6 separate regions of the Homo sapiens genome follow, and all the other regions are linked to region 1. Evidence: promoter capture Hi-C in 16 types of primary human blood cells and fetal thymus (Javierre and others, 2016). All regions are on one chromosome and are shown on one strand. Each heading gives the region's core, a stretch centred on a gene start or on the middle of the fragment in contact. The rest is flanking DNA. Distances are from core to core; before and after follow the strand shown.

Region 1 (3,996 bases), core at 557-3,056:
TCGAATTTGCATTCAAGTAAACTGACTCACTATTAACCACTGTGTTAGAGGTTAACACAATGAGGCAGAAGTTCCAAAAACTCTAGGAGAAGACAGAAGGGTTTCAAGGGCTATGACCTACCAAGTAAAAGGCAAAAGAATTGGCAGCAAGTTAAATTTATCTTTCTCCTGATAATGTTCTTTCAACTCTCAGAGGCTGAATTTGCTAAGAAATTATAAAATGTTGTTTAGGGTTAGAACTGTTTTTACTCCCACCTCCTTAAATAAGCTTTGTTCAGAATGTCCATTTGAAACTTAGACTGGAACTTTCTGTGCCCTAGTTTCTATATTAGCTAGGCCACAAAACAAAAAAAAATTCTAAGGTTCTATCAGCCATATAGATCTCAGTCATCTTTTTAGTCATACTAGAACTCACCAAGTCCTCTTAACTGAAAGGACTCCTGGCCTACCATCAAAATGCTCATGTGTTAGGCTTTATATCTGGATTAAAGTCAAGTCAGCAAGAACTGGTCTCAGAGGAATTCATTCCTCCAGAGCAGAGGCAATGTGTGAGATTTAAGAACTCAGGCCTTAGCATCTGGCAGATCTTTAAATTTGAATCTTAGCTCGCTACTTGACATAGAGCAAGAAACATGAGTCTCAAATATAAATCAGGGAACAGCAGGACCAGAGCTGATGCACAGGAAGCACCTCGCATTGTAGAAGGCACTCAATAGCTGCTTGGTATAGAGTAAATACATGCTTGGTTTTCAGTAAATAAATACTTGATATTGAAACGATTATTTCAGTCATTGATCCATGCACAAGAAAATTGTGCATCATAAACATTTTACTCTTGAGCAAACATCAATTATTAAAAACATATGTTCAAATTCATTATCCATTCTATTTAATTAAATGCTTGAGGCGCTTGGGGAGCTTACATTTGTGATTTAAGTCTGTGCGTTTTTCAAATGTATCTTTCGGAAGAGATTAAGACACTGCAATTTTAAGCAGGGCAGGTGGCTCACGCCTGTAATCCCAGCACTTTGGGAGGCTGAGGTGGGCAGATCCCTTGAGGCCAGGAGTTCAAGACCAGCCTGGGCAACAAAGCGAGACACTGTCACCATAAAAAATATTTTTTTAAATTAAAAAGAGTGCAATTTGAACACATGTCAATATACGATTACCTTTTAATTCAAATGTGTAGCTATCTACTGTGCTGGAATCAGGTGGGCAGCAGGTGATCCCACTAGTGGCAACTTGGTGTTCTGCGATGTGGCACATCCACTTCTTAAATGCAGATTATTGCACTGTAATAAAAATCCTCCATATTCAGTGCTTTCATTGTGTATAATTATGTAAACTGTAGACAAAAAATATTCCTGAATTTGTGTGTGTGTGTGTGTGTGTGTGTGTGTGTGTGCGGATGCGCAATCCGAGATGGTTGTTAAAGCTCGAAAGCGAGTTTAGCTTCTAGAGTCGCCCCTCCTCCGAGGCCCAGCCGAGGTGGACTCGCACCGTCGCAAGACCGGCCAGGCGGTGGCAATGAATAAAAAGCCAGTCTTGGTGCTAGGGACCCAGGTGTTCTCCGTCCCGCCCCTGCCTGGCAGCCCCGCCCCTCCCCCGCCCCGGGCCACGCCCCACCCTGGCCCAGCCCCCAAAAGTACCGTTTGCATCTCCCGTGAGCCTCTTCGACTGTCACTCTTTGGAAAAAAAAGTGACGTCTGCACTGAGGTGGCCGCTAAAGTGCGAATCACGACGGGCGGTGGCCGTTGGGTCCCGGCGGGAGGCGGGGTTTCCGCTCCCTGGGGCGCACGTCAGTCAGGAGGCGGAAGCGCAGCGGGGGCGGGAAGGTTGTAGTGCCGCGAGTTGAGCTCCTCTTGCCTAAGTGGTCGCGCCCCCTTTAAGAGCAGCGATTGTAAGGAGAGGCGGTCCCGGTGTCCTCGGGTCCCAGGTAAGTACGACAGTCTGGAGGCACCGGGCAATAGAAAAGTGTGGCTCCGGTGCTAACCTGTCGCCGCCGTCTTTGTTGCTACAGGCAGCGACCTCCCTTCCGACCTTGCCACCTAACATTTCTGGCTCCTACTTGCTTCCTTCGTCTCGTTCACAGCCCGGGCCCAGCCGGCTCTGCACATCCGTAGGCAGGGACCTTTCTGGCACGCCAGTCTACCCTGTCACAAGATGGCCCTGTTGTCCTCCAGTCCTAACCCCGCATTGCTCGCTCTGTGTTTCAGCCGCTGGAGACACCTAACGATTCATTTACTAAAAACCGGTGTCTGTTTTCTATCCCTTGTGTCTTTCCCGGGCTCCCTAGACTAAGGCATCACTCTTTGCTGCCAATGAAATCAATTCTTTGCCTCCGGCACTGTGCCCACCTTTTAAAGAGCGGGTTTGTTAAGCTTTTTTTTTTTTTAATTAATAGTATGGTTGCTTGAATAAGACTTTATTTTCCCTTCTGAAAGCAGGATTAGGGTCTTGCTCATCTTGGATCTCCCCAGGATTTAGTACGAAAGCACGAAGTTTGGAAACCAGCAGCCCAAATAATTCCTACTAGCTCTATGACCCTGGGTACGGTTTCCTCATCTATAAAATGGTGATAAATAAATAAAGGAACTAATTTCGAGCATGTTACACAGTGTATGGTGCAGAGCAGATACAGTACTCCTTTACCTTTTTTAGCTTTCAGTGTACACAGTAGTTTTTGGGTATGTGTTTTAGACGAATGCAGAGACACCATAGATGAATGATTTTTCTTCCTAGCACCATGATTATATTGACTCTATCAATTGGTTGATATATTTGGTAAATACAACCTAATGACGTTTATTAAAGACAGTAATGCTAAATGGTATGAACATCTGCAAGAATAAACAATGCCGTATTTAATTAAATGCTTGAGGCACTAGCAGAGTTTACATTTGTTTCAGTCTGTGTACATTTCAAATGTATCTTTCTTTCTTTTCTTTTTTTTTTTTTTTGAGACCGAGTCTCGCTGTCTCGCTCTGTGGCCCAAACTGGAGTGCAGTGGCGCGATCTCGGCTCACTGCAACCTCCGCCACCCGGGTTCAAGTGATTCTCCCGTCTCGCCCTCCCGAGTAGCTGGGACTGCAGGCGCTTGCCACCACACCCGGCTGATTTTTTTTTTTAATTTTATTTTTAGTAGAGACTGGGTTTCACCATGTTAGCCAGGATGGTCTCGATCTGCTGACCTCGTGATCCGCCCGCCTCGGCCTCCCAAAGTGCTGGGATTACAGGCGTGAGCCACCGCGCCCGGCACAAATGTATCTTTCTGAAGAGATTAAGAAACAGCAAACATTTCATTGTAAGGAGGCTAGCTGTTCCTTTTAGTTTGTGATTAAAATATGGTGCATTGTATATGTGTGTACACATATTTTATAGGTGATTGTGAAGTGCTGACCAATTGCCACTGGACATACTTGAAACAAAATAGGAAAATGGCAGCAAACTCTTCAGGACAAGGTAATGACAGCAGGAATTTCTTTACTATGAACATTTCCCCAATATAGTAAATGTATTTGAATAAGAGAAAATTTAGCATAGGGCAGTTACTGTAGCCAGAATTTAAAAAATGAATAGCAGGCCGGGAGCGGTGGCTCACGCCTGTAATCCCAGTACTTTGGGAGGCCAAGTCGGGTGGACTGCTTGAGGTCAGGAACCCCGTCTCTACTAAAATACAAAAATTAGCTGGGCATGGTGGCGGGCACCTGTAATCCCAGCTACTAGGGAGGCTGAGGCAGGAGAATTTCTTGAACCCAGGAGGCGGAGGTTGCAGTGAGCCGAGATTGCACCACTGCACTGCAGCCTGGGCGACAGAGTGAGACTCCGTCTCAAAAAAAAGAAAAAGAAAAAAAGAAGAACATCAAAGTAAAACTCTAAATTTGAAATACACTTGTGCTGAATAATGATGTTTAGGTCAATGACAGACTGCTTATAGGATGGTGGTCCCATAAGATGGTAATGGAGCTGAAAAATTTCAATCGCCTAAGTGACATC
Region 2 (4,404 bases), core at 700-3,199, 640 kb after region 1:
CCCAAGAGGTGGAGGTTTCTGTTAACCAAGATCGCGCCACTGAACCCCAGCCTGGGTGACAGAGCAAAACTTTGTCTCGAAAAAAAAAAAAAAAGGAGGGGGAAGACTGGGATGAACTTCTACTGGAAGAAATTAAGTAAGAACAAAAGGGTGTCTCTTGGCCGAAGTGTCAGGGTGGTTAAGGAAAGGGTAGGGTCACCAGAAGCTGGCAGGAAGAGGAGAAAAACTGTTCTCAGGTTCTAGCAGACCAGCTACGAGTATTCTAATTCAGGTCCTGCTTAGTTTGGATTCCTAATATTCTTTCTAGGAAAATGTTCTTGTCCTTGCTCCTGCAGTTTTGCCAATAGACTTTCTTGTTGTGTATGTGCACTGTATGTGTGAGAATAAGGAGAAAGCTGCCAGTATTGGGACCTTAGCCTTTTGTGTGTTTTTATTTAAAAATATATTTATTATACAAATAATATTTTAAGTACAATATTTATAGTATTGCAACTCTAATATTTGCTTACTGCTGCATTTCACCTTTTGAAGAAACATTAGAGTCCAGAGAGAGAGAGAGAGGAAGAAAGCTCATGAAAACGGGAAGGGGCTGGGCGCGGTGGCTCACGCCTGTGATCTCAGCACTTTGGGATTCGAGGTGGCAGATCACTAGAGCTCAGGAGTTTGAGACCAGCCTGGGCAACATGGCGAAACCCTGTCTCTACAAAAAATACAAAAATTAGCTGGATGTGGTGGCATGCATCTGTGGTCCCAGTTACTTGGGAGGCTGAGGAGGGAGGATCACTTGAGCCTGGGAGGTTGAGGCTGCAGTGAGCCGAGGTCATGCCACTGCACTCCAGCATGGGTGACAGAGTGAGGCCCCCATCTCAAAAAAAAAAAAAAAAAAAGAGAAAGAAAAAGGAAAAGGGGAGGTTTCAAGGCATCTAAAGCCTTTTAGGCCAACCATTCACCCAGTGAGCTTTTTTATGTTTCAGTTCCACATTTGGGGCCAGAGATGGTATCAGAAGGAATTTGCCCAGGAAATGACCTTTAATATCAGTAGCAGCAGCCGAGATCCCGAGGTGTGCTTGGACCTACGTCCGGGTACCAACTACAATGTCAGTCTCCGGGCTCTGTCTTCGGAACTTCCTGTGGTCATCTCCCTGACAACCCAGATAACAGGTAAATCTTGAATAACAGCATTTGGATTAACAAAGTTACCACAGAATTGTTCATAGGTCCTGATAAAGAGGAACACTGTTGCTTTTTATCATTATATAATGAACTTTAACAGGGAGAGGAGGAAGGACATGGAATTGGAGAGGTGCCTTAAGGCGCCTCTGTGACTGTTATGTTTCATTCTTTTTTCTTTTTTTGAGGCAGGGTCTTGCTCTGTCGCCCAGGCTGGAGTGCAGAGGCACGATCATGGCTCACTGCAGCCTTGACCTGGGCTTAAATGATCCTCCTGCCTCAGCCTCTTGAGTAGCTGGGATTATAGTTGTATAGGCCACCATGCCTGGCTAATTTCTGTATTTTTTGTAGAGACGGGGTTTCACTATGTTGCCTAGGCTGGTCTCGAACTCCTGGGCTCAAGCAATCCACCTGCCTCGGCCTCCCAAAGTGCTGGGATTACAGGTGTAAGCCACTGCGCCCAGCCTGTTATGTTTTATTTTTAAAAAGATACCTAATAACCACAGGGGAGGTCTGTGGGGAGGGGGAGGGGGAAGATACCTGAAACAAAATGTCAGCATTGATGAAATGTGGGTAGTGTGTCCATCCATGGTGTTGGTTGTATAGCTTCTGGATATTTAAAGCATTTAAAATACTTTATACTTAAACAAAAAATGCTTGTGGCTCTTTCTTTCTCAGGAATATTTAGTTGGCATCCTGTTGCAAGTACTTTAAGAGTAGATTACTAGCTAGGCACAGTGGCTCAAACCTGTAATCCCAGCACTTTGGGAAGCTGAGGAGGGTTGATCATGTGAGGATCATTTCGAGATCAGCCTGGCTGACGTGGTGAAACCCCACCTCTACTAAGAATACAAAAATTAGCTGGGTGTGGTGTCAGGTGCCTGTAATCCCAGCTACTCGGGAGGCTGAGGCAGGAGAATTGCTTGAACCCAGGAGGTGGAGGTTGTGTTGATCTGAGATCGCACTCCAGCCTAGGCAACAAGAGCAAAACTCCATCTCAAAAAAAAAAAAAAAAAAAAAAAAAAAAAAGTAGATTACTATCAGGGGACAATGATTGTAGTCCTCCGGCTATAGGGCCCCAGTAAATTCACTTTCCACTCATTTTCTCCTCCCTCTTCACATCTGTGACCCCCACTTCACACATGCTCTGAGCAAATACTAAGCATATTAGCTTCTTGATTCTTATTTCACTGAGAAATTAGAAGTAGTCAGGTGAGGACTTCCCACGCTCAGCCCTGCCGTTCCTCCTTGCATCCTGTTCTGCCTCCCTTCCTGTCCCTGCTCGTGTGTAAGGCTGCCATCCCCTCAACTTGTGCCTTAGATCCCATCCCTTCTTCCCTGATCAGCACTTCCCCTCAATACAGAATTATCCCCAGCATTGCCTAGCATGTTGCAACATCCTCCTTGTGAACGAAAAGAAAGAAAAAATGAGCAGACCTTCTTTGAGCCCATATTTGTCTTCAGCTACTTTGCCTTCTCTCTGCCCCTTTCTATAAAAACTCCTTGAAAGAAATGGCTGTTCTGTAGGCTCCACAGCCCTACCTCCTGTTCTCACTTTCACTCATCCCACGTGGGAAACATACGTCTTCATTGCTTTACTGAAAGGCTCTTCGTTTGATCTCCGTCTTGCCAAATCCAATGGCCAGTTTTGTTCTTATCTGATTTCTTCGATAGCGTTGACACTCCCTCCCTCTTGAAACCCCCTCTCCCTTAGTTTTGGTTCCTTCTGCCTTGCTGTCCCCTCTCAGTCTTCTTTGCTAGCTCCATCTACTTTTATGACCCCTCTTCAGCCTCCTTTTCTTCATTATCTACCCTTTCTGCTTAGGTGATCTCAACCAGTCTTATGGCTATAACTATTACCTATATGCAGAGGATTTCCAAAGATCAATTTCTAGTCCCAGCCTCTCCTTTGAGCACCAGACTCCTATATCCACCCAACTTCTACACATGTCCTATTGAACATCTAATACGCAAATCAAACGGAACTTGTGATTTCTCACCTCTGCCCTCGCCCCCAAATCGGTTTCCACCCAGGCTTCTCTGTTTCTATCTGTTACTTTCTGTCTGTTATTGGAATTTCTGTTCACCCAATTGTTCAGACCAAAAACAAGTCCTAATTGGTTCTATCCCATCCCCAAATTTCTAATCTGTCAACAAGCCCTGTTGGCTTGCTGTCTGAAATATATTCTGAATTCCACCACTTCTCCCCACCTGTGCCTTTTCCACAACTACCCTAATCCAAGACAGCCACCTCTTGCTTGGATTCCTGCTGTAGTTTTCAAACTGGTTTTCTCTTGCCTATATACCTCCCACCCTGGACCTTAGTCTTAGTCTTCACCATAACTTTCAAAAGATCACTCAGCACTCAGAGTGATCTTTTAAAAATGCATTTGGGAACATGTCAGCACCAGCTCAAAACTCTCCAGTGAGTTTCCATTAAAGTTAGAATGGAATCCAAGTTCCTCATCATAGGACATGTCATCTGGCCCCTGCCTACTTCTAATTCATCTCCCCCTGCTCTCCTCCTTTCCCATTAAGCATCAGCTGTCTCCCTGGCCTTCTTGCAGTTCCTTCAATGGGTCAAAGTTTTTCCAGCCTCCAGACTTTTCCATCTGCAGTTCACACTTCCTGGGACACTGTCAACATATGGCTTCTCCATAGTTGTTCAGGTGCCTGCTCAACTGCCATCACCAGCCTCCACGCTAGTACTCTGTATCTACTTACCCTGCTTCAATTTCTTCATAGAGCTTCATATTAATAAAAAATATTAATTATTAGTTTTTAGAGATAGGGTCTCACTCTGTCACCCAGGCTGGAGTGCAGTGGTGCAATCATAACTCACTGCAGCCTTGAGCCCCTGGGCTGTAGCAATCCTTCTGCCTCAGCCTGCTGAGTAGCTGGGACTATAGGCGCTCACCACCATGCCTGGCTAATTACAAAAGGGATTTTTTTGTTTTTATTTTTTGTAGAGATGAGGGTCTCCCTATGTTGCCTAGGCTGGTCTTGAACTTCTGGCCTCAAGTGATCCTCCCATCTCACCTCCCAAAGTGCTGAGATTATAGGCATGAGTCTCTGTGCCCAGCCTAGAGCTTGTTTTCTAAAAACTTATTTTTTTTTTATTTTCTTTCTCTCCCACTAAAATAGGAGCTTCCTGAAGACAGTGATTTTTGTCTGTATGTTTTACATTCAACCCTCAGTGGGTAAGAATGGTACTGATAGATAGCATAACAGCCC
Region 3 (3,969 bases), core at 1,458-3,957, 790 kb after region 1:
CATGAGAATCACCTGAACCCGGGAGGCAGAGGCTACAGTGAGCCAAGATCGCGCCACTGCACTCCAGCCTAGGTGACAGAGCAAGACTCTGTCTCAAAAACAAACAAAATAATAAAATTATTGACCTATTCTGTACTTACTAGCAAAAAAAATAAAATTAAATTAAAAAGCCCTAATCTATAGGTTGAACAAAAAGAATAAACCAACAGAAGTTAGGTAATAAAAATACTATGGCTTCATTTAGTTGTCTTACCGGTCAGCTATCGCTTTGGCCATAAAGTAATCTTCGGCAATGTACTGAGCAAAAGCTATAAGTCCTCCTGCTTGATCCAACACATCTTTTCTCATTAAACAAGACATTCCTGTCACACATTTGAAACCAGTTACATTGGCAGAGATATAGTATCTTGGATGTGAAGTTCCAAAATATACCTGCCCAAAAAACCACAAACGTGTATGATTAGAATTTCATGTTAAAAGCATGGTGTTCACGAACTGTTTTTCCCAATGGTTTTTTTATAAGTATGATTGAGTGAATATCTTATTATTCTTACGTAGACTACCTGAATAAAAAGTGGTAGACAATATTGCTTTCATAGAGCAAGCACAGTTAGTAAGCTAAAAATGCATCCAAATAAAACTTAATTTAGATACAAAATAAGGTAAAAATATCACTCATTGATATATAAAATATTAACAAATATTCAATGTATCTTGTTTTTAGGGTGTTCATGTAAATATACACACACATCTACTTTACTGGGATCAATATACATATTTGTATGTTACGTATATGTGTGTATATATACATGCATGCATACACACACCACCCATAGGTATATCAACCTTCGGGACAATCCTATTTTTTTGGGGGGTGGGGGGTGGGGAGGGGACACAATCCTATTTCTTAATTCCTTTTCTTGCATCCTTTTGTAGCTAGCTGCTCCCTCTCCCTTAGTCACTAAGATTCTTCCCAATTTCTCCATTTTTTTCAATGTATTTTTCATAACGGGGATACTAAAATTCTCTCATCCGCTACTGCCATTTCTCTGCATATACTCTGAAGTCATAAGATATATACGCTGATAAATCAATGGTAGAAAAGGACTGTTATTACCCTACTTAGTAGACATAAAATCCTATTTATTATTTACACCTCAGATATGTTGCCTTTTCTAATTAGCCTGAAATAAAGAGTAGTCATCTTTCTTAGGAGTTACACACACAGTGCAGAGCAAGAGAATTCTAAGGGGCAATTATGATTATGATTCTTGCTACCTACCCTGAACCCAGACTCCAGTGAAGCCCTAGTGTTTGTGGGACTGAACTGAACCTGACTTCTAAGAACAGAGGCACATATCTTAATTCCTTAGTAGTTATTGAGGTCTTAGGAATGAGATGTTAGTCACTGAGCTGAATGTGCTCTTTACAGTTGAGAATGATTAATTCTAAGTATGGCAGAGTGACTTCCAGAGATTAAACCTACACTAAGGCAATGGGTGTATTCTGGGAGATGTTTATTGACATACACATCACAGAGATGTTATTGACATCTGTATCAATTTGGATATTTCTAAGACAAAAATACAATTTGGTATACTAGAACACATTGTATTTTATTTTAAAGTGGCTACTCAGTTTCTTTTTCTAAACAAAAATTCTGGTATTTAAGACTAACAATTTCTTGCAGTAGGACAAATATATTTACAGCCAATATTAAGAAAGAGCTCATGGTTCAAACTGCCAAAGGCCAGATGCAAGTTCCCACAATGTACCTTTACCCCTTCAGATATGTGGCAATCATAAGACTGCAATTCAAAAGAATATAAATGCAGATATGCTTAAGAGCAAGTTGACATATTTAAAGACTGAAATCACATATCTGTCCTTATAACATTACAACAAATTTTTCCTCCCAAATGTTTAACAGTACAGGAATGATTAACTCAAGCATAGGACACACATACGATGGCCTATGATACAGCCAATAAAAATTACTTTTATGAAAAGCTATTAATGATATGGGAAAAGCTTACAAAGTCACAAAAATAAGATACAGATTATTTTTAGAATACTATCTCAACAATGTTTTCTAAAGGGCCCAGAAGGGGGTGGTGGGGGAAATAAAGACTCCAAAGTGTCCAAATGATACAATGTTTATTTTTAAAACCAGAAACTTCCTGCCGGGCGTGGTGGCTCACGCCTGTAATCCCAGCACTTTGGGAGGCAGAGGAGGGTGGATCACGAGGTCAGGAGATCGAGACCATCCTGGCTAACACGGTGAAAACCTGTCTCTATCAAAAATACAAAAAATTAGCCAGGCATGGTGGCGGGCACCTGTAGTCCCAGCTACTCAGGAGGCTGAGGCAGGAGAATGGCGTGAACCCGGGAGGCGGAGCTTGCAGTGAGCCGAGATCGCGCCACTGCACTCCAGCCTGGGCGACAGAGCGAGACTCCATCTAAAAAAAAAACAAAACAAAAAAAACAAAAAAACCCCATAAACTTCCTGTAATTGTTAGGGTTCTAGGTTGTTGGTTTTTGTTTTTTTGCATCTTATACTTTTCCATTATTTATAGTTTCCTATGGATGTTACTATTTCTAAGTTGGAGAAAAAATAAAATGAAAACATAAGTTTCTCAGGTAATTATTAGAAATATGTTTTAAAAGGACATCAAATAGGTTTTATAAGGACTTGTATGAATACATTTTCTTTTGTGTATATTTGAAATACTTTGTGGTATTTTAAAAAGGTTCTTTTGAGGGCTGGGCGCAGTGGCTCATGCCCGTAATCCCAGCACTTTGGGAGGCTGAGGCAGGCAGATCACTTGAGGTCAGGAGTTTGAGGCCGGCCTGGCCAACACGGTGAAACCCCATTTCTACTAAAAATACAAAAGTTAGCCAGGTGTGGTAGCACACCTGAAATCCCAGCTACTTGGGAGGCTGAGGCAGAAGAATCGTTTGAACCTGGGAAGTGGAGGTTGCAGTGAGCCGAGATCGTGCCACTGCACTCCAGCCTGGGCAACAGAGCAAGGCTCTGTCGCAAAAAAAAAAAAAAAAAAAAAAAAAAAAAGGCTGGGGGGAGGGGGCCAGCGGTTCTTTTCAGATCGAATGTTTGAAAGAACAATATAAAGAACTGAACTCTAGAACAGGAAGTGAATACTACAAGGCAAGAGGTTAGACTGTGTTCAGCTGGCAATAAGACCGCAGGCATTTCCTGCGCACAGCTGTTCACTGCCAGGGTACAGTCAGGGTCCCAAGAATTTCCTCACTAATGAAAACAGCTGCTCTCAACTCAGGGCTTCTAGAACACAGCAGGTTCCCAAATGGACTTAATACAGTTAACTTGAGATACCTAATTCCAGCTCCCATAGTCTCAAGCTTCTGGGAAATGAGGGGTCTGATACTATGAACATGATTTATAACCACCATACTCACCTGCTCTAAGGTGGCAGCAAAGCCCTGTCTGTCTGCTACGTAAGGCAGCCCGTGAACCAAGCCTACTTTTTCTGTCATTTGATTCACCATGTCAGTAAGCGTATCTGGAATTACTACAATTTAAAAAAAAGGCAGAGAGGGGGAGAAAAGAAAATTTGTTTTTAGTAGAATGCCCATTAATATAAAATATATTTTGTGAATTGTTATTACATTCTTAATAAAATACATTATTTTAAACATATGGATCTAATAAAATGAATCTCAACCACCTTTCTGAGGAGAATACAAAATTTCAAAAGGGCCTAATTCTCGAAAGCTAATTTATACATTTTTTAGCCCAGTATATACCTACTATGTACCAGAGGCAGAATATACTTTGAAAAAGTTACCCCCTGTTGGAACTTCTAATTTGGAATAAGGACAATCTGTCCTAGTGGAAAAGGCTCAGGAGCAGAGGCTAAAGGACCTCAGTTCTCGTGCTGGCTTCTCTACTCTCCAACCATAGGAAATGAGACTATTTTCTCTGTGAGTATC
Region 4 (4,455 bases), core at 1,085-3,584, 960 kb after region 1:
GGGGCAAGTTTATGTTCCTTCCTGTGACTTAGAAACTGTTAAAGCTGTTAGACAGCTAGCCAAGATTCTAAAGAAACCCAGACAAGGCAGGGTGGAGACCGAGAGGAGAAATTTATTCCAGAAATTAACTGTTAGCAGTAGTGTTTCTTAATACATAAGCTATATCATACTCCTCAAGTAGATTCTTTGCTTAAAACTTTCACTGTAAATAATTTTATAGCAACCATGTGAATAACTTAAGAATAATAGAATCAGTCTCATTTGTAGGCACTGTAGACCATCTCCATTCCCTACATGTCAGAGACTCTGGGGGATGAATTGGAGATATTAAGAGGTAAAATGATGCAGAGAAGACCAAGGTCAGCAGAAGTCAAATACTTCTATTTCTTTAAAATTTTGCTTAGGCTACGCCTGGCTATTTTGAAGTGTAAGTCCATAAGATATTTTCCTCCATTGATTAATCTTTATTGATAAAGTATTAGCCGTTACAGCTCTTTTGGGATATTTGGCTATTCCTCGGTGTCCTAGATAATACTAAAATTTATTGTACTTTTGCCTTTGTTCCAGAACTATGCTACATGCTCTATATGCACAGTACAATGAAGAGCTACAGAGTTTAAAATGTGATTGAAAAACCCAGCTGTATCTAATGACTGATTACATTAACTATCTAGATCTCTTTGGATAACTTTTTGTTTTTTTCTTATTCCTTTATATTTCTTATTTCTTTTCAGATTTATTTATTGATGATAAAGGAATACTTTTTGTAAGTAGTAGAAAACACCTACCAACTTTGCCTACTCTCTTGAGTAGACTAAAACTGTTTTTGGTAAAGGATCCTCTTTTAGATTTCAAAGGACAGATCTTCACAGAAGCTAATTTTTCCAGGTACTTACTTAATTGACCAATGCTGTAAATATTTTTAAGAGGTGAAAATGTTTTAGTATGATCACAAGCTTAGATGTTATCAACAATGTTTTTTTTTGTTTTGTTTTGAGATGAGTCTTGCTCTGTCGCCCAGGCTGGAGTACAATGGCGCAATCTCGGCTCACTGCAACCTCCGCCTCCTGGGCACATGCGATTCTCCTGCCTCAGCCTTGCTGAGACTACAGGCGTGCGCCACTGTGCCCAGCTAATTTTTGTATTTTTAGTAGAGACATGGTTTCACCATGTTGGCCAGGCTGGTCTTGAACTCCTGACCTCAGGTGATCCACCCGCCTCGGCCTCCCAAAGTGCTGGGATTACAGGCGTGAGCCACTGCACCCGGCCAATAACTTTTATCATCGTTTTACCTCAACTTTAATTTTAATGATTATGTGTTTTGGTTGGCTACATTTAGTATGTAACTTGCTTTTAGTAAACACTAATTAATGTATTTTTTTTTAAGGGAATGTTTCTCTCTTCAAGAAACTTTGGAAGCTTTTGTGAAAGAAGATTTTTGTATGGATAAAGTGAACTTTTGTCAAGAGAAACTAGAAGATACAATATGTTTAAATGAGGTTGTAATACTGGCTTTCAATAATATTTTAGTAAAAGTAGTGAGGCACATTTTTGTAAAATTTGTGTAATATACATTGTCTACAATTGTCAAATTAAAAAGATTTTATAATGGAATGAACATGTATCAATTAAGAAGTCAAATTTACTTCTAAATAGTGGTTCTCAGCCTTGGCTGTATGTTGGAATTACCTGAATAGTTAAAAAAAAATGTTGAAGCCTGAGATATATTCTGATAAATTGGTCTGGTGTGCAGGCCAGTCATAGGGAACTTTAAAATCTCTTCCAATAATTGTAATCAATATACCTGGTATAGGAAATTAAGTAGTCATGTCTAGTTTAAAAATTGACACCTGAACTAGAAATATTGATTTGTGAGTTATACACAAAAAATAGTACTTGAGCTAATGAGAATATTGCAAGAGTAAGAATATAGAGGGTCCAAGACTGAATTTTAGTTTTCTGCCAGTGTTTAACAAGGATGATAGCATCTTTTGCATATTAAAGGCCAAACTTCTCAAAGATGCATTTAGTTTCAATAGCACACAAAATGGTCATAATATCAGTATGTAAAGAATTCTAGCTATTGCGATTGCAATAACTTTTTGCAGCTGGACAAGCTCAGAAATCTAGGCCCATATTGATTAGATGCGTTCACAAAGCTACTTTAAAAAAACATTTTTTGGCCGGGCGCGGTGGCTCACGCCTGTGATCCCAGCACTTTGGGAGGCCGAGGTGGGCAGATCACGAGGTCAGGAGATCGAGACCATCCTGGCTAACATGGTGAAACTCTGTCTCTACTAAAAATACAAAAAATTAGCCAGGCATAGTGGTGGGCGCCTGTAGTCCCAGCTACTCGGGAGGCTGAGGCAGGAGAATGGCGTGAACCCAGGAGGCGGAGCTTGCAGTGAGATCGCACCACTGCACTCCAGCCTGGGTGACAGAGCGAGACTCCATCTCAAAAACAAAACACAAAAAACATTTTTTTAGGACAACTTAAAATGTTTTATATTTGGAGATTTTAATGGACTTAAAGCACTTAAGGGGTTTCCTTACAATAAAAATTTTAACATGATGGTAAAAAGGTTAATTCACCAATAGGCCCCATTCCTCCAGTACCTCTTGCTTCCCAGGTTAACCCTGAGAGTTGTGGACTTAGTCTCTCTTGTTGAGGAGTCAAGTTCTGTTGGAATGAAAGAGAAACATACTCCATGGATCACAGTAAAGATCTATTCCATTCCATGATCTCATTTCACTTCTCACCATTTATTATCTCTCATCTACTGCAGTGACTGTTTTTAATTTAAAATGTTTACAATTTGCTATTAGCCAAAAAGAAGCTATTTCTGCATCTAGGGATATTGTACACCACTAATGTAATGAGTGACCATAAAATACAATACTCAGAGAGAACATTGCTTATAATAGAACGTATTTTTAGCTGCTACATTTCTGTTTTTTTAAAGTATATATAGCTTTAACAATTTTGAATGTGGATTTAGTTTAAAATTTGGCACATCATTTAAGCAAATTTTGTCCACTTATGATTTCGAAAATATTTATTTGGAAAGCCTCTCTAAAAACTTTTTTAAACTATGTTTTTTCAGCCGTCAAGTTTTCTTATTGAGTATGAATTCTTAATACCTCCAAGCCTCAAACCAGAAATTGATATTCCATCACTCTCAGAACTGAAGGAGTTATTAAACCCAGTGCCAGAAATAATAAACTATGTAGATGAAAAGGAAAAGCTTTTTGAAAGAGGTGAGAATTAATTGTAAAATGTATTACTTGTAAAAACCACTTAAGAATGTTTGTTACATAGGTTCTTGTTTATTAAAATTTTTCTGAACCTCCAGATTTTGCAAAAATGTTCTGCAAGTTACATGTTGAAATCTCAGGATTATTTTTGATGAGATTATTTTCTCATTGTCATTTTCTTGTTGTTGTTGTTGTTGTTGTTGTCGAGACAAAATTTCGCTCTTGTTGCCCAGGCTGGAGTGCAATGGCAAGATCTCAGCTCACCACAACCTCCGCCTCCCAGGTTCAAGCGATTCTCCCACCTCAGCCTCCCGAGTAGCTGGGATTACAGGCATGCACCACCACACCTGGCTAATTTTGTATTTTTAGTAGAGATGGGGTTTCTCCATGTTGATCAGGCTGGTCTTGAACTCCTGACCTCAGGTGATCTGCCCGCCTCGGCCTCCCAAAGTGCTAAGATTGTAGGCATGAGCCACTGCACCCAGCCGTCATTCTCTTTGTATGACTTTCAGGTTTAAAACGTCTCTGAAATTTAACCATTTCAAGATAATTATACAAATAAAACTAAAACACCTATGACTATACAAATTTTTGAAGAGTTGTTTTCTTATAAACAATAAAAACATTATCAACTTCTATACTGACATTAGTTAACTATGGAGAGGCTCACCATAAAGAGCTCAGAGTATGGATTCGTGGAGTCAATGACTAGGAGAGTCATAACTTAGAACTTAGATGGTTTCATCCCATTTAGTCTTAGTAAATTTAGTAAATATTATTGAGTTATTTTTAATGACAGTATAAGCCCAAATATTTAACTGCCCTCTCATAAATTTCATTTAAAATGATCAAAGATATATAATATCATGGAGGAAAGGAAGGGGGATCTGCGATATCCATTGAGAACAGGGATGCTTGCCATGAACAGACCACAGACTTGAAGGAATTCTTACGATTAAAACTAAATCAGGGAATTACTGTTCTGCCTGCAAATCAAAGCAAGGGAATGAAAAGCCAACCTGGGAAAGTAGATCAAATCCATACCAGAACTTGCAAATATAGTAGATCTCAAAATGCAGGGTGGGCCATAGGCTTATTGGCAGGACACAAATCTCAGCTCCGTAAATCAAATGTAAAGGACAACAAATGACTTTACTGAGTGATTATACTGTTAAACTCCCAGCCTTCACTTGACTCGGC
Region 5 (4,436 bases), core at 215-2,714, 820 kb after region 1:
CCAAGTGAATCGATATCAGTAATGTGCTCTATATAATTTTTTCATTTCTTTACAGAGGCAGATTTCACCTTAAACAGTGGATATACCAAACTAGCCACATAACCCATGTCTCTATTCACGCCATCACCCAGTTCTATTTTACTTACACGCTTCGTCACAATCTCATAACCTTATTTAGATTTTATCTGCTCCTTCCTTCTAGAATGTAAGACTCATGAGGACAGGAATTCTGTCCTGCTCACCACCATGTCCCCTGGCCAATAACAGTGAATGGTATCTAGTAGGCCTCAAGAAGTATTTGTTAAACAAAAATGAAAAGATGTGGCCGGCACGGGGAGAGTACAAATCTACATAAAACAATAAAACGAGGAACTGAAAAAAGGAAAGAAAACCACGCTGAGATGTACAAGCTGACAGGACTCAAAGCTATCATGCCAGCTCGGAGGTTTGGTGGACATTTTTCAGGGTGGACAGGTGCTTCACACCTATCTAAGCGCATAGAGCCCTTCCAGGAAGAAGAAAATCCACAGAGAGGTGTCCAGATAGCTGTGAGCAGCTCCCAGAAAAGTGGACACAATCACCACCCTAACAGAAACGTGGCCCAGGTCGGGAGAAAAAAACAATACACCATACATCTCGGCCCAGATGAAAAATTACACGAATCCCCAGCACAATCAAACCAAGCCACCACCTTCAGCCTGACACGTAAGAGCAGTCTCCTTTAGCCTGGCTGGGCAGTCGCCTGCAACCCAGCAAACCCTTCCCACGCCCAACACTTTTCCCTCGCAAAGACCACCGCCACCGCCGGTCCGAGGGGCGAGGGAACGGGGGGAACAGCCTGACGATCAGCTTTCTCCACCCCCGCCCGAGCCCAGTCCCCTTCAAAGCGCAAACGTTTCCCATTCTCGCCTGTCTCCGAGGCCCGGACCCCTGCCCCGAGCCCCTCCTGCGGTCCCTCACTCACGTGTAGATGATAGCCATGAAATGCATCAGCCACAGCACCAAGAAGAGGACGAACCCGAAGACGGCCATTCCCTCCAAGGCCAGGTCCAGCAGCGCCATCCCCCGGCCCGCCGGACCGGCCCGGCCCGCTGCGGCCGCCAACACGGACAACGCTCCCGCAGGAGGAGGACAGGGTGGGCGCCCGGTGCGGGGGCGCGGGAGGCGAGAGGAAGGTGGGGAGAGGAAAGGGCGGAGGGGGGTGGGGACGGAAGGGGCGGGCAGGGCCTGCGCGCCCCCGCCCGCGCGCTCTCGCCTGCGCGCTGTCTTCGGCGCGCTCGCGGGCGGCTGCGGGTGCTGCGGTCTCCCGGCTCTGGTCGGGGCGACCGCGGTCCCGCGCTCCGGTTCGCCTCTCCCGAGCCTCGCGGCCGCCCACCAGACCCTGCGCGCGGGCACCTCCGCCGCCTCTCCGTCTCGCCGCCGGGCTCCCGGCCGAGCAGCTCCACCGCCGCAGCTCCGCGCACTAATCAAAACCGGCGGCTCGCGCCCCACTCCTCGGCGCGTCCCGCCCCCGGAACCGCGGCGCCCGCCTCTCCCAGGGGCGGTGCCCCCATCGGTCCACGCCCACCCTGTCGCCCGCGCGCCCGCTGCGGCGCCGGCGAGAGCGCGCCGGGGAGATCGTGTCCTGCTGCCCGCAGGACGCAGGCCGGGCTTCCTCCGGCTCCTCGCTCCCGCTGCCGCCCACCTAGGCGGAAAGCGCTGCAGCCCTGGGCCGGGCTCCCTCGGTGTCGGTGGCAGCTCGGGACCCTGTGCCTGGCTGGAGGCTGCTCTCTCTCCGTCTGGCCCTGCTGTTCCTGGGTGCCCCAGAAAAAGACACGGGTTCCGGGCAGCTGCCGGAGCTTGTCTAGAAATCCAACTTCCAACGCCGCGTCTGCAGCCTCCCCGCCGGGCACTGCTACTGCTCGGAGCAGCCAGGCCCTCCAGGCCACGTTCCTGGGCGCAAGGGATGCCCATTGCCTTCCCTCTTACTGCTTTTAATGCTGTGGGATCTTGGATCAAAAGGGACCGGAGAGTAAAATAATCTCCATGCGCCTCACAGATCTCTAAGCGCCTTAGCGACCGTGTGTATTATAAAAAGAAATTCTCAAATTCAGAATTAAAGAATCAGTTGATATTGAAATTCCCTAAGACTGCCATCCAATACGGTAGCCGCATGTGGCTAAGTGAGGGTTGGAAAGGCAGCTTGCCACTCTGTGGAGTAAACAGTACACCAGATGTGGAAGACCATCTCGTTAGTAAATTTTATATTGATTGCATGTTGAAAAGGTAATATTTTGGACATACTACATTAAATTAGGTAAATTATTAAGTTAATTTCTCTTTTTAAATACTTTGGCTAGCTACTAGAAAATTTTAATTGTACGTGTGGACAGCACAGCTCTAAAATGGGAAGAAATGTCACTTTGGGTAGTAAGGTAACTAAGTATTTGTCCTAATTTTAAGTCATCCCAAGAAGATGCTAGTACTCAATGTTTGTGTTTCTTCAATCTAGATGAGTTTATACTATTTCTGCATTGTTTTATGTTTATTGTTGCAAGTGATTTCCTTTTAAATAATCCATGACCTCCCTTGAGATATTTCAGAATTGAATTCAATTTTGAAAAGAAGTTGTGGCTGGGCGCGGTGGCTCACACCTGTAGTCCCAGCACTTTGGGAGGCGGAGGCAGGTGGAGCATGAGGTCAGGAGTTCAAGACCGGCCTGGCCTAGATGGTGAAACCCCGTCTCTACTAAAAATACAAAGAATTAGCCGGGCGTGGTGGCAGGCGCCTGTAATCCCAGCTACTCCGGAGGCTGAGGCAGAGAATTGCTTAAACCTGGAGGGGCGGAGGTTGCAGTGAGCCGAGATCGCGCCACTGCACTCCAGCCTGGGCGACAGAGCGAGACTCTGTCTCGAAAAAAAATAGATGAATTTAAAAAAAAGAAAAGAAGTTGTTTATTATTGCTGTTTATGGTAGTTAATAGTCACTGAATGATCTACCTCAATCTGCAATTAAATGACAAACTACAACTAGAAGAGTTAATGTCCGAACCATTCCTCGATTAACATCCTTGGCTCCACTGGTGCAGAATCAGTGGGAAAGAACAATGCTTCAAAATCAAATTCCCACTGTTGAGAGTTACTGGCTGATAAAAATAGCAGGATGGAGGGCCAGGCGCAGTGGCTCATGCCTGTAATCCCAGCAGTTTGGGAGACTCAGGTAGGAGGATTGCTTGAGGCCAGGAGTTTGAGACCAGCCTGGGCAACATGATGAAACCCTGTCTCTACAAAAAAAAAAAAAAAAAAAAATTAGCCAGGCATGGTTATGGCACCTATAGTCCCAGCTACCGGGAAGGCTGAGGTGGTAGGATCACCTGATCCTGGGAAGTGGCGGCTGCAGTGAGCTGTGATCGCGCCACTTAACTCCAGCCTGGGTGACAGTGAGTCCCTGTCTTAAAAAAAAGTGGAATAGAATTCTAACATCGAAATAACGTTCCAAACAAAAATTTACGATTGTAGTTAATTCTAAGGCACACTTCAAAAAAACACTTTAACAAATTTTAATTTCTCTGAAATGGGAATGCATCTCACAGTCAATGCCATCTTAGAGTTAATTGGCGTTTTTTCTTTTTTTTTTTTTTTTTTTTGAGGTGGAGTCTCGCTCTGTCGCCAAGGCTGGAGTGCAGTGGCGTGATCTAGGCTCACAGGAACCTCCGCCTCCTGAGTTCAAGCAATTCTCCTGTCTCACCCTCCCCAGTAGCTGGGACTACATTTGCACACCACCACACCCGGCTAATTTTTGTGTTTTTAGTAGAGACGGGGTTTCACCATATTGTTCAGGCTAGTCTCGAACTCCTGACCTCGTGATCCACCTGCCTCGGCCTCCCAAAGTGCTGGGATTACAGGCGTGAGTCACCGTGCCCAGCCAATGGCTTGTGGTTTTCTTTTACTCAAATATAAAATAATAGTGCATCTTAGTGATATATAAAATAATGCTGCATCTTATCATTAAATGCCCTCTTAGATTTGAGGAACACCAATTGCTTAATTTAAGCATTGTTTTATATTCTGCATTTTTTCAAAAATGTTTTCTGGAACCTTACAACAAAGGATTTTATACAGTATGACCAATAACACAAAAAAAGAGGCCAAAGAAATGTGAAAGTAGATATTCTTAAGAGTTAACAAATTTGCTAAATTGAGTATAATCAGTAGATTAAAGATCAGTTATATTATACTTGACCCTAGTTAAACTATGTTTACCCAAACTTCGTTTTAAAACAGCTTTAGAAAAGGGAAGAGTATGAAGACAGTATAAAGATCTGTGGTTGCCATGGAGCAGAGGAAAGAGGGACAAATAGATGACAGGATTTTTAGGGCTGTGAGTGAAACTATTCTGTATGATCCTATAATAGTGTATACATGTCATATATTTGGCAAACCCCGTAGAAAATACAC
Region 6 (4,624 bases), core at 701-3,200, 540 kb after region 1:
ATCTTGTCTCTACAAAAAAAATTTTTTAAATGAGCCAGGCATGATGCTGCGCCCCTGTAGTCCCAGCTACTGGGAGGTTGAGGCTAGTGGACTACCTGAGCCCAAGAGGTTGAGGCTGTGGTGAGCTGTGCACTCCAGCTTGGGCAACAGAACAAGACCTTGTCTCCCCAAGAGGAAAAAAGAGCCTAGGAAGATGAGCTTTTTCTTTGTTTGTTTTTGTTTGTTTGTTTTTTTAAGAGAGGGGGTCTCACTGTATTGCCCACATGGGCCTTGAATTCCTGGACTCAAGCAATTCTCCTGCCCTTCAGCCTCTTTAGTAGCTGGGACTACAGGCATGCCACACTTCACCCAGCTTGAAGTTGATTTTTAACTACTTGTTAAGACTCCACAACTTTAGCCCTTATATGGGTGTGTTTGAAAGTGGTGAGATTTACGGCAGGCTCATGGCAGAGAGTAAACAAGTGAGGATATGGGGTGAAGTAGTGGGGTGCCTGCTCTCGGCTGCGCTCCCACAGACATCACAAGCTCAAAGCCTTCAAACCGGATCTTATTTATTTCCTTCTCCCCGACTAGTCATAAAACCTAGTGGATTCCACTCTTACACACTGCCCTCTTCACACTCATTTGTCAATGCCCAGCTGCAGGACACATCTATCTCTATCTCTATCTGTCTGTCTGTCTGTCTGTCTGTCTATCTATCTATCTATCTATCTATCTATCTATCTATCTATCTATCTATCTATCTGTCTATGGAGTCTCACTCTGTCGCCCAGTCCGGAGTGCAGTGGTGCGAGCTCGGCTCACTTCAACCTCCGCCTCCTGGGTTCAAGCAATTCTCTCGCCTCAGCTTTCCGAGTAGCTGGGATTACAGGTGCCTGCCACCGTGCCCACCTAATTTTTTTTTTTTCAGTAGAGACGGGGTTTCACCAAGTTGGCCAGGCTGGTATCGAGCTCCTGACCTCAAGTGATCCACCCGCCTCGACCTCCCAAAGTGTTGGGATTACAGGCGTGAGCCACCGCACCGGGCCAGGACATGTCTTCTATTGCCTGATTCCTGCAGCAACTCCGGGCTGGACTCTTTGCCTTCCACATCCCAACCCAACCCCAATCCCAATTCCACAGAACAGACAGAGATGTGTCAGTGATGAAGTCATTCACTGCTTGAAACTGTGACAGCTTCCCGGCGACCTCCATCACTTGGGTTAGGAGGGCTAACTTCCCTCTGCAGCTCAACGCCCCTCTCCAACCCTCTGCTCTCACTCTAGGTCCCCATTCCCCATTTCTACAACAAACTCCCGCTTAGATTCCTCCCCAACGTCCTTCTCATCCTTGGGTCTTGGTTTACTCCTTCCCTTGGGATGAGTACGGCTGTGATGGAGGTAGGGGCTGGCATCAGCGCGTCCCAAGCCGGGTGTCCTCAGAGCAGCGGGGACTGATGCCAGCCCCTCCCTCCATCACAGCCCTACTCTCTCTCACTCCCGGTGACCAGGTGTCACCTGGTCAAGTGTGTCGCCCCTGGGTGGCCTGGGTCTGCGTCTTCCGACCTCTCATCTGGGCCTTGCGCTGTGGTCACCTCATCCAGCTCCCTTTCACGTCCTGGAAGATTTCCGCCCCTTGCTCCCCTCACCCCTCTCCCCGGGGGTGCCTCCCTGAGCCCTCGAGTGGCTTGAATCCTCCGCAACATTTCCTCCCCAGCACTCTCCGGGGCTCTGCGTCCAGCTGTGTCATTATCCGATGAGTGTCTGTCCCCCTTTGCGAATGTGAGCGGCGAGAGGGCAGCAAGTGCGGAGCCAGAGACGGACGCGGAACGGGCGTGTCCTAAGCCCAGGCCCCGACAAGAGGAAGGACCCGCGCTCTGCGGCCTCCCGGGGACCCCGCAGCGCCCCCCGCTTCCCTCGGCGGCGCCGGAAGCCGCCGGCTGGTCCCCTCCCCGCGGCGCCTGTAGCCTTATCTCTGCACCCTGAGGGCCCCGGGAGGAGGCGCGGGCGCGCCGGGAGGGACCGGCGGCGGCATGGGCCGGGGGCCCTGGGATGCGGGCCCGTCTCGCCGCCTGCTGCCGCTGTTGCTGCTGCTCGGCCTGGCCCGCGGCGCCGCGGGAGCGCCGGGCCCCGACGGTGAGTGCGGGCTGGGACGGGCACGGGCGGCCGGCGGGGCCCCCGGCTGGGCCTCGAGGACTCTGGGCGCACGGACGCTTCCCCGCCCCTGGGCCGGGCCGGCGCGGTGCCGAGGCGTGGGGCGCAGGTGGGGCCCGCGCCGGCCGTTGGAGATCGGCAAGGAGGAGCTCAGAGAAGCGGGGGGCTCCCCGCCGGGCTTCCCTGCCCCCGCCCGACCCCGCGACGCCGGGGGACGCCGGTTTTAAGGCGGCCTGGCCGGGCCCCCAGGGACCTCCACTGCCCAGGAGGCGGGGTGGGGGCTGGGCGCGAGCGCGGACCCGGGCAGGGCGGCGCCCGGGGAAGGGCGGGGAGGCCAGGGCGTTCTGCGGCGCTGTCACGCTTCCGGCTCTGCGGTGGCTTTTGCATGACACATTTTTGACCCGAAGCAATTTTCTTACCACTTTTAATTTTTTCACGTTGTTAGAGAGCCGGATGCTAAATATGGTGAGAAAGACGCGTAAGGAAGAGTACAGGAGTGAAGCCATTAATTCACTCATTCATTCAACAGATGGCCCTTGAACAGCTTCCCTGTGCGCGATGAGGGCGGGCAGTGCGGGCCCTCGTGGAGCTCATTGTCTGGAGGATTTAGACCAGCAAATGTTCTATTTCCAAGCAATCGAGGGAGTTGTTTTTCCTCCTCTGCAAAATGCAGTGTTGAGCTGAGTAGGAATTACACAGAGGATTCAGACACGCAGGGGAGGTGACATTCATCCACATAACTGTAATACAAGGCAGAATGGCATGGGTGCCATGAGAAGGTGTGGGTGGTGAGGGCAGGGAAAGGGGAATCGGTGGTGACCCTTGAGCTGGGCCATCAATGATTGGTCATATTTGGATATGGGAAAATGTGAAAAAGGTATCCCAGCTCATAGCAGAAGGCACTGTCACCTCTCCACAAATGAGTGTAGAATGAATGAATTCCTTCAGAATTCAGGCCCGGGGGAGAAGGGAAGGAAGCACACGGAGGCACCAGAGGCAGAGGGCAGAGTGCCTTGATTGGCAGACCTAGGCCTTTGGACTTAGCTGTGCCTGGAAGCCACTGGAAGCCGTCTCAGGGAGTGACAAGAAAAGTGGGTCTAGCCAGTTCTAGGCGCTTCGGGAGCCACAGGTTACAGTGCAGACATGGCCAAATCCAAGCACCACACCACACACAACCAGTCCCGAAAATGGCACAGAAACGGCATCATGAAACCCGGATCACAAAGATACGAATCTTTTAAAGGGGTGGACCCCAAGTTCCTGACAAACATGCGGTTTGCCAAGAAGCACAATAAGAGGGGCCTAAAGAAGATGCAGGGCGACAGTGCCAAGGCCATGAGTGCACGTGCTGAGGCCTTGCCCTCATAAACCCCAAGGAGGTTAAGCCCAAGATTCCAAAGGGTGTCAGCTCTTGCCTACGTTGCCCACCTCAAGCTTGGGAAACGTGCTCGTGCCCGCATTGCCAAGGGGCTCAGGCTGTGCCAGCCAAAGACCAAGGTCAAGGATCAAACCAAGGCTCAGGCTGCAGCTCCAGCTTCAGTTCCAGCTCAGACTCCCGAAGGAGCTCAGGCCCCTACAAAGCCTTCAGAGTAGAGATCTGTGTCTGCCAACGTGAGGACAGAAGGATTGTCCCCCTTGGACTGCCATCTGCATGGGGCTGATGTCCTCCTTTGCTATTTGTATAAGTAAACTTGAGGCGGGGGAAAGAGGGTCTAAGGAACCCCCATCTTCCTTACTAAAACCAAACGCTGATCCTGAAGTGGAAGGAAATTTCCATGTGATGACATACAAGGAGACTTGTGGTTGAGAATCCTGCCTGCCGCCCCCACCCCCATTCTCTTTGGCTTGGGACTTTTACCATGCCTGATGGGTATTTCAATGGCTTGATCTTCTGGAGTGGCCATTTTTGTAATATTAGGTGCCCTGGTTAAGATTCCTTCCTTGGCTCTATCTCCGAGAACAGTGCGCATAGGACTTGCAGATGCTTGGCGTCTATTTCAGGATCTTCCTGTGATATCTCTAAGGTAGGAAACTGTCCAGTATGATCCCATTGAATTGTTAGACTAAGATGGCTGAACACAGCTAGTAGCTACGTAAGGTCATCTGTAACTAAAGGTTTTGGGGGTGAATTTGGGGAAACAGAAGTCAAGGCTTCCTGGTTGAGCCCCCTCTCCTTATCTAGACATTCTCCCTTCATGTTCAACCTTGGAGAACCTGGTTTTATGAAGGGCAGGTTTCCTGACAGTCGACAATGTAGGGAAAGACTGGAGGCTTGGACAAGCCCATTGAGGAAGTTGTTGCAATAGCTGGCCTGGAAGTTCTGAGGACTGGGCCCACAGTAATGACAGCAGAAACGGACTGAATGTAGACAGTAAGGTGGAAATGGACTGGAAGGAAGGATTTAATAACAGATATGAAGGTGCAAGGGAACAGAAGGGGAAAGATGACACTAAGGCTTGGGGGCTGGGTGACTTGGTATATGTTTCTACGGA

The links. The method cuts DNA at HindIII sites, captures the fragments that hold promoters and counts their contacts. A CHiCAGO score of 5 or more calls a contact.
Region 2: a fragment that was not itself captured here is called in contact with the fragment with the promoter of INIP in region 1 in 1 of 17 cell types (fetal thymus); the score reaches 5.9 in fetal thymus.
Region 3: a contact is called between a fragment that was not itself captured here and the fragment with the promoter of INIP in region 1, in 1 of 17 cell types (fetal thymus). The highest score is 7.0, in fetal thymus.
Region 4: a fragment that was not itself captured here is called in contact with the fragment with the promoter of INIP in region 1 in 3 of 17 cell types (megakaryocytes, erythroblasts and fetal thymus); the score reaches 6.5 in megakaryocytes.
Region 5: a contact is called between the fragment with the promoter of UGCG here and the fragment with the promoter of INIP in region 1, in 3 of 17 cell types (naive CD4 T cells, total CD8 T cells and fetal thymus). The highest score is 6.6, in naive CD4 T cells.
Region 6: the fragment with the promoter of SUSD1 here is called in contact with the fragment with the promoter of INIP in region 1 in 2 of 17 cell types (fetal thymus and total CD8 T cells); the score reaches 5.6 in fetal thymus.

What each region holds. Positions count from the first base shown.
Region 1 is chr9:112,715,927-112,719,922 of GRCh38, reverse strand. It overlaps INIP (INTS3 and NABP interacting protein), which reads left to right and starts at 1,806. Exons shown (of 5, transcript NM_021218.3): 1 at 1,806-1,936; 2 at 3,382-3,462. The coding sequence starts at 3,438. RefSeq lists a silencer at 1,595-1,754 and an enhancer at 2,125-2,224. The HindIII fragment of the contact is 2,113 bases long and covers 271-2,383 here.
Region 2 is chr9:112,075,295-112,079,698 of GRCh38, reverse strand. It overlaps SUSD1 (sushi domain containing 1), which reads left to right. Exons shown (of 17, transcript NM_022486.5): 12 at 975-1,161. Among named protein-coding and RNA genes, the nearest start is that of LINC02977, 37 kb to the right of the region's middle. RefSeq lists an enhancer at 2,509-2,608. The HindIII fragment of the contact is 5,993 bases long and covers 1-4,404 here.
Region 3 is chr9:111,925,963-111,929,931 of GRCh38, reverse strand. UGCG (UDP-glucose ceramide glucosyltransferase) reads right to left here. Exons shown (of 9, transcript NM_003358.3): 5 at 3,436-3,548; 6 at 254-432. Among named protein-coding and RNA genes, the nearest start is that of MIR4668, 4.2 kb to the left of the region's middle. RefSeq lists a silencer at 3,135-3,294. The HindIII fragment of the contact is 1,347 bases long and covers 2,034-3,380 here.
Region 4 is chr9:111,755,128-111,759,582 of GRCh38, reverse strand. SHOC1 (shortage in chiasmata 1) reads left to right here. Exons shown (of 28, transcript NM_001378211.1): 6 at 735-888; 7 at 1,388-1,499; 8 at 3,105-3,258. Among named protein-coding and RNA genes, the nearest start is that of SHOC1, 38 kb to the left of the region's middle. The HindIII fragment of the contact is 1,826 bases long and covers 1,422-3,247 here.
Region 5 is chr9:111,893,842-111,898,277 of GRCh38, reverse strand. UGCG (UDP-glucose ceramide glucosyltransferase) reads right to left here and starts at 1,464. Exons shown (of 9, transcript NM_003358.3): 1 at 965-1,464. The coding sequence starts at 1,062. RefSeq lists silencers at 1,020-1,109, 1,220-1,809 and an enhancer at 1,430-2,013. The HindIII fragment of the contact is 9,149 bases long and covers 1-4,436 here.
Region 6 is chr9:112,172,623-112,177,246 of GRCh38, reverse strand. It overlaps SUSD1 (sushi domain containing 1), which reads left to right and starts at 1,950. Exons shown (of 17, transcript NM_022486.5): 1 at 1,950-2,114. The coding sequence starts at 2,012. It also overlaps the pseudogene RPL29P20. RefSeq lists a silencer at 1,832-2,491. The HindIII fragment of the contact is 4,774 bases long and covers 1-3,568 here.